Linked DNA regions of Homo sapiens: region 2 is linked to region 1. The links are contacts of gene promoters, found by promoter capture Hi-C in blood cells and fetal thymus (Javierre and others, 2016). All regions are on one chromosome and are shown on one strand. The core of a region is centred on a gene start or on the middle of the fragment in contact, and the rest is flanking DNA. Distances in the headings are between cores, read along the strand shown. Region 1 holds the start of C15orf61 (chromosome 15 open reading frame 61). Region 2 overlaps MAP2K5 (mitogen-activated protein kinase kinase 5).

What was found. Contacts are between HindIII fragments. The CHiCAGO score rates a contact against its expected background, and 5 or more counts as called.
Region 2: a contact is called between a fragment that was not itself captured here and the fragment with the promoter of C15orf61 in region 1, in 3 of 17 cell types (naive B cells, total B cells and fetal thymus). The highest score is 7.3, in naive B cells.

The regions. Positions count from the first base shown.
Region 1 is chr15:67,519,527-67,522,929 of GRCh38, reverse strand. It overlaps C15orf61 (chromosome 15 open reading frame 61), which reads right to left and starts at 1,799. Exons shown (of 2, transcript NM_001143936.2): 1 at 1,336-1,799. The coding sequence starts at 1,681. It overlaps IQCH-AS1 (IQCH antisense RNA 1), which reads left to right and starts at 1,086. Exons shown (of 6, transcript NR_040052.1): 1 at 1,086-1,411. RefSeq lists enhancers at 1,373-1,492, 2,133-2,212 and a silencer at 1,603-1,952. The HindIII fragment of the contact is 4,154 bases long and covers 1-2,384 here.
Region 2 is chr15:67,776,447-67,779,952 of GRCh38, reverse strand. All of the region lies in intron 21 of MAP2K5 (mitogen-activated protein kinase kinase 5), which reads right to left. Among named protein-coding and RNA genes, the nearest start is that of SKOR1, 47 kb to the left of the region's middle. The HindIII fragment of the contact is 1,535 bases long and covers 1,065-2,599 here.

The DNA.
Region 1 (3,403 bases), core at 550-3,049:
GAGAGGCCCCTAATCATTAAGGTGCTCTTAAACAAAATGTCAACACTAAAAATGTGACTTTAAAGGAAAAAAAGGCATTTGGCTCATGGTTTACCTATAACTCTCCCGTTATGCTTTTCCTAACCTATTATTCTTTAGGGAAGAATGATTTCTTACTTATGAAAAATGCTAAAATAAACTTATACTTCTCGAATCTAGTTAACACTCCAGTCTTTCCAAATAATTTCGAATTGAATTTCCTAAGTCACCTCACCCTTCAACTTCAACCAACCTCCAAAGTAGTGGGCATGCTCTATACAGTCCATCAGCCAAATAATAAGAGGCATTTTTAAAGGATAACACGTTGCTAAACAATTATCTCCTTACAGGACAGTCCAGTGGAGTAACGGCTCAAAAAGCCCACGACTGACATATGTGTTATTATAAGCACAAATACACAGACTATTTTTAACCTTAATGGACGATCAGATTATGTAATAGTATTAGTAGTACGGCTGCGCAGGGTTTAGTTTTAATCCTGGCTTTAAAAACCTGGCTGGGTAACATGGTTCATTCAGCTCCATGGCTAGATTTTGAATCACTGAAATCTAGATTGATTTTATGCCAGCTATTAGTAAGTTCAAAACATCTTGAGGCCTTCTGTTTTCCCCTGACCTATAAAAGATACACCCATGTCCATGTTCGTACCTCCCTCTTCTGTCATTAAACCAAAAGAAAATAAACACCTAGTGACAGTAAACATCCTCAGGGCGTCTCCATGAAAATATACAAATATTAAAGATCTTTAAAAATCTTTTAGGCCTAGCACCTCAGGAAGCTGTTATGTCTGGTGAAAACCTTTGGTGCTTTTAGTAAAACGAACTTGCCGGGAATTCATACAAAGAAAACAAAAGAAACTTAAAAGAGTAGTTCCAGTTATTGCAACATAAACGCAGCTGCAAAGTGATGTTCACGGGAATGAGTCCTGCCATGCAGTAGGACGGATGTCAACTTCAGAGCCACTTTCTAGGGGGCGTTTCCTGACGCCCCCTGGCTTACTGCCCAGGCCAGGGGTCTACTCTGGTTAACATGGGCAGGACAGGAGGGCGACCCGCCCCTCCCTAGGCCCGAGGACGCGCCCGCAGCAGGCGAACGGCTTCGGGTGCCAGGAGCTCAGCAAGCTGGGGACCCCCTGGGCGAGGAGTACAAAGGACCCCAGGCGAAGCCGGCGCCGGGAGGCAGAGCTGACTCCCGCGGGACTCTACCGGCCTGCGAGCGTTCGTCACGTGCTCGGTGGCTGAGGGGCCGTCCCGGCCGGGCGGGCTTCACCGCGTGGGCGCGGCAGTCGCCACTCACCGAGGTTGACGACCTTGAGCGCCGTGAAGAAGCGGTTCTGCCGGGCCAGGTCCTGCCAGGGAGCCTTGGAGCAGTGGTACTTGATGAAGGGGAAGCAGCCGGTGCGCAGGACGTGGTAGTTGGCGCCCTGCACCGGCCAGTTGAAGTGCGAGAGGCCGAACTGGTCGTTGCGGACGGCGCTGTAGGGCACGCAGAAGGAGGTCCAGTGCGGCAGGCGCCGCTGCAGCAGATGCCGCGTCAGCACCTCCGAGGCGCTGGGCTTGGGGCGGGCGGCGGCGCGCGAGGCCCACGGCCTACACAGCAGCAGGCGGAGCGCGACCTCGTGGGCCCTCCTCAGGGCCTCCATGGCCCGCCGCGCCGGGGACGCAGGCTGGTGTCCGCAGCCGCTGGCGCGCAAGCGCGCCCCCGGGCGAGCGCCGGGAAGGCCAACCGGCGCCGCGCGGGTGCCCGAGAGCCCCCGGTGTGCGGCGGCGCGTGCGCACAGCGGCCCCGTGGCCTCCCGCTGGGGGTGGAGTCCGGGGGATGGGAAGCGTGAGCTGCGCGAGGCGGAGGGTCACCTGCGTCAAGGAGCTGGTTTTGAGTGGCCAGGTGTGACCTCACGCCGTCATTAGTAACTCGGGCAGGGGAGGGATTCGGGGAGGTCTCATCAATTTGGGCCTGAGGAAAATTCAGGTGGAAGACAATTAAATAACTAACCACCTCCGCAAGGTGCAGAACTCAAACCCAAGTCTCCCTCCCACGCCCTGGGCTCCAGGGAAGCCCTTGGGTGTTGTTGTTGAAACAGGACGAGGCGTGACCCCGGGTCTGCGTTGTTTGGTAAGGCCGGGAGCACTTTTGTGTGTAGGTCCTCGCTGTCGGGTTCACTGTTTAAAATTAGTCCCAGAGATTTCAAAATCAAAAGTTTATTTAAAAACCTCACGTGTCTCAGTGCAGCGTCCGAACACACAAAGGCACCTCCCTCTAAGAACCTGGTAGACGGACCAGGAGCCTCTTATCGAGCTTTGTGGACCTCAGTCACCCATTACCAATCCATTACTTTCGGAAAAGCTTTGCTCAAACTTTGCGGCCTCTTGAGGCAGTAACTTACGGACAAAACTGCTTTTAGAAAAGGATTTCCTCTTTTGTCCTAAACTCATTTTGTTTGGAGAGGCCATACATAAACAAGATGATGTGTCTGAAACCACCTTATGTAAATGAGGTACAGTAATTACGCGTTAAGCATCATATAACAATTACTATCGTTGCTAAAAACTCAAGGGGGATGTAGGATAGTATGGCGAAATTTTATATTCCCCAGTTTTTTGTTTTGTTTTGTTTTGTTTTTTTGAGACGGAGTCTCACTCTGTTGCCCAGGCTGGAGTGCAGTGGTGCAATCTCAGCTCACTGCAACCTCTGCCTCCCAGGTTCAAGTGATTTTCCTGCCTCAGCCTCCCGAGTGGCTGGGATTACAGGCGTGCACCACCACGCCTGGCTAATTTTTGTATTTTTAATAGAGACGGGGTTTCACCATGTTGGCCAGGCTGGTCTCAAACTCATGACCTCGTGATCCACCTGCCTCGGCCTCCCAAAGTGCTGGGATTACAGGCGTGAGCCACTGCACCAGGCCTATTCCCCAGTTTTTATTGAACATTGAGCACCCACCAACATATGCCGAATCTTGAACTTTACCTTACAGAATTTGAAGTTGAACTTTACCTTATAGAACTTGAACTTTATAGAATTTCTTTTTCTTTTCTTTTTTTTAGAAAGGATCTCACTGTTGTCTAGGCTGGAGTGCAGCTGCTCGATCTCGGCTCACTGCAACTTCTGCCTCCTGGGCTCAAGAGATCCTCCCACCCTCAGCCTCCCAAGTAGCTGGGACTGCAGGTGTGTGCCACCTACACTCGGCTGCTTTTTTTGGTATTTTTTGTAGAGGTGGAATTTTGCCATGTTGCCCAGGCTGGTCTTGAACACTTGGGCTCAAGTGATCCGCCCGCCTCGGCCTCCCAAAGTGGTGGGATTACAGGTGTGAGCTTCTGCACCTGACCAAATTAAATTTTGAAAAAGAGTGGAGTCCTTTTTCAAACGA
Region 2 (3,506 bases), core at 583-3,082, 260 kb before region 1:
TAACAGAAAGTTCTAGTGAGCTGAGTCATGGCCAATGAGGAACTAAAGTGTAACATACTTTAAAGACCCACCTTAGCCTCCCGCTGCCGCAAATCTGGCACGGCACTGAAGAGCAGCCCAACTGATCCACTTTACTGCATCCAAGATAACCAAACTCTTCCTGTGCTCAATGAATGCTACACAGCTTCACTGTGCCTTGAAACAAGATACTAGGAAGATGACAGTCCAATAAAACACGAAAGAGGCATTAGAGACATGAGTTCAAATAACTACAATCTTAAACAGGCAAGTCATCATCATACTAAGAGATCTGACTTGACTGATGGAGGAAAAAAGCTATGCTTAACTGGGAGATTAAAACTGTCAGATCACCATGATCAAGGAATGACAGACTTTATCTATATCTCTCTTGCTATGCGCATGCATATAAAGACATATACATACACACACATATTTATCTGCTAAAGTCTTGTGAAAAGATTAAGTGGTCACATCTATGGAAAAACAAAGCCTGTTTTCTTAGGGTTATAATCTCTCTGTTCTTGCTGAAGTGCTAATGTGTCATCAAAAATTCAAATTAAAGCTGTCTGATTTAGTGCGATCTCAAGTATCCAGACAGTGATTCTGCCGATGTAATTATATGCAATTAAAAAGCTAAAATCAACTTCTTTACTAGTGGGTTCCTCTTTATAAGCAGACACAAACAGATGATTTTAATGGCCTTCAGAACTTAAAAAAAAATTCCATGGTTGTCAGCTGGACCCTACGTGGGGCCCCCTTGCTGTTGTGATGACTTTTGTGCATGATGGAAATACTCAGCTGAAGTTACAATCCCAGCCAGTATTTCTCACTGCAAATTCTGGGCGGCATAGCTAATGAGCTACTTCCAAATGAACAACTGAAAACAAAATGATGTTTACAAGAATGAGTGGCCAGACACATTAGGAGTCTGGCCCTAAAGGTTCATTTTAAAACACACTTTATATGACACAGGCAATACCTAACTGTAGTGAACTACATCCAAGTTCACAATTTATTAACCATCATTAGTATTTTAAAAAGCTTAGATTTTTGCAAGCACAGGGTGGATGAGCACTCTCTAAGGGGGCTATGGAAATGCACCTTTCTTCATATTTGCGCTCAGGGCACAGGTAAGCCCCGGATCAAAGTAAACCGAAACTTATCTTTGGCATGTTTAGTAGAATGTGGTGATCATTTTGAATTGATCTGAGCCCCGTGCTTCTAGTAAACAGTAACAGGTAAGAAATCCCCCTACCCTTCTGCTAACCGCAAAGGATCACCCTGCTCTCACAGAGGTAAGATCCTTTTCCATCTTTCCTCGTGACTTCTCTAAGACTTGCTGGTGACCCCCTTGTTTACCTGCCTTCATAAGACCTCAGAACCCTCCCTTTTCTTTGAGCCATTCCTCATTAATAAACACTCTCCCTACTGCAATAGCCCTAAATAAAATCATCTTCTTAATTGTCCAGTGCATTTTGTCTTTCACAGTGATCAGAAGATTTGGGTCTAACAATGAAACAAAGCCATTTGGTGTGAAGCCCAAAGTCACACTGGAATTTGAGTGTTGGAGAGACAAAAATCTAACATCATGGTTACCCTGATTTTTAAAGGGACCACGCAGATGTGCAATTTATCATATACCTTGATTAATTGAGAGAACAACCAACCATACTATCTGAAAATGTAATTACAATCAGGTTTGGAAAAGCAGAAAAGCTACCAGTGACAATTTAATTTAGAGGAGTTAAACAAGTTAACATCTCTTAGTAAGTAATTAAATGTTTAAACAGATTTTTCTAGAGCAGTTTGGTGTTTATTAGCCCCCAAACATTACCACCTCTTATACATAAAGCCTTAGCTGAGAAATGAGATGCCTTCAAGTTTGCAGCTGCTGGGATGACATGAAGGAAAAAAATCCAAGAGCGCTATTCTGATTTTAACTGATACCCCGCCTTCTAGGACCCATGCCAACTTGTTGTATTTCTAATGCCACTATTTACTTGCTGTCTAAGCAAAATGTCAAATTTCAATTGCAAACTGCATCCTGTGTTTCTTTTTAGGTGCCTAAATTGAAAACCAAACCTGAGGAAATGCTAAATGCCTTTAAAGGATGTCCTACTCTGGAATGTACAAGGAGATGCACAAAATAACAGGCATTACTAGAACCTAAGGAGAAAACCCATGTTTTTAAACAATTACTAAAGCAGTATAGTAACAGCATAAAGAAAATTTCTTCGCCAGCTTGTTTCTCTGAAATTCTCGCTGCCACTGAACAGCTAGAACAGATAATAACTATTAGTAAATCAAACTCCTCTGCAATATCCAGCTGTGCCTCACGCATTTACATACAGATAGAATGGGTATATGTTTTTAATATGTATGTGATACGTACTTTTACCACAGCCGAAGTGCATGCTACAAAGGAGGGGGAGAATGGGAATCAGATCAGCATGAGATAATAAAGTGGCCTAGATAAAGTATTAGCCAGCGATTGATCTCAAACCGGGATGCTGCTTCTTCTGACCTGATTACTTACTATGCATAGATTCCATTAAATAGAGCTTAGACACTGAAAGCTTCTGGAAACACTCTAAATGCATAGAAAGATCTACCGTACTCTGAGCCCAAATTGTAACTGTGTGGGTGCCCACAGCCCACACCTTCCCCGTTCAAGTTAAGGCCCACAATCAGGCTAGGCAGGGAAGTTAAAGGGCTGCCTGACAGCTGGTGCAAAGCCCTGCTGAACCCCATAGAAAGCACCCCACCCCACCCTCAAGCAAGCACTCTCCCGCTGAGTGAACACTTCCCTCCCTACAGTCAGCTCCTGGCCAAGTAACTCTAAAGGACAGAAGCAAGGGAGCTTAACAATCATTGAGGGTCAGGGTCCCCTTTGAAAAATGTAGCAGTCATGAATTCCTGTTTTTGGATGAAAAGAAACATCTCCACATGCATAGATAACTTCGGATGTAATTTCTGGGGTTCTGACTTCCTAAAGTCACAGACCATTGGTCAAGGGCTGCCCCCTCGGTTTTGCAGATGAAAAGACACTGAAGTGGAGAGGGGATGGGGAGTTGGCTGAGGTTACACAGTGAAGGGATGTGATGGAGGTTCTCCCGGCTAAGTCACATCCTGACCTTAGCTACCAAATAACTCTGAAGGATGATTAATTCCTCAGAAGGAATTCCTTGTGGTTTAGAGAAGCAAATGGTCTATACAGTAATATCTCACATACCCCTTTTATTTAAAAATATTTAAACACAGAAATTGAATAGCAAAACCAACCTGAACCCCCATCTTAATGCTCTCATCTTAGGTTGTCTTTGTCCCTGAATTTAAGGGTCTGATTTTTATGTTTTTGCATCCTTCCATTTGATTATTGACATTTAAGGGAAATTTCTCTACCATCTTTGCATTATCGCTGTCTCCCCTCTTGCTGCAGTCCCACCAATCCTTTCTGACTGGCAAGGGGCTGGCTTTTTCCCACA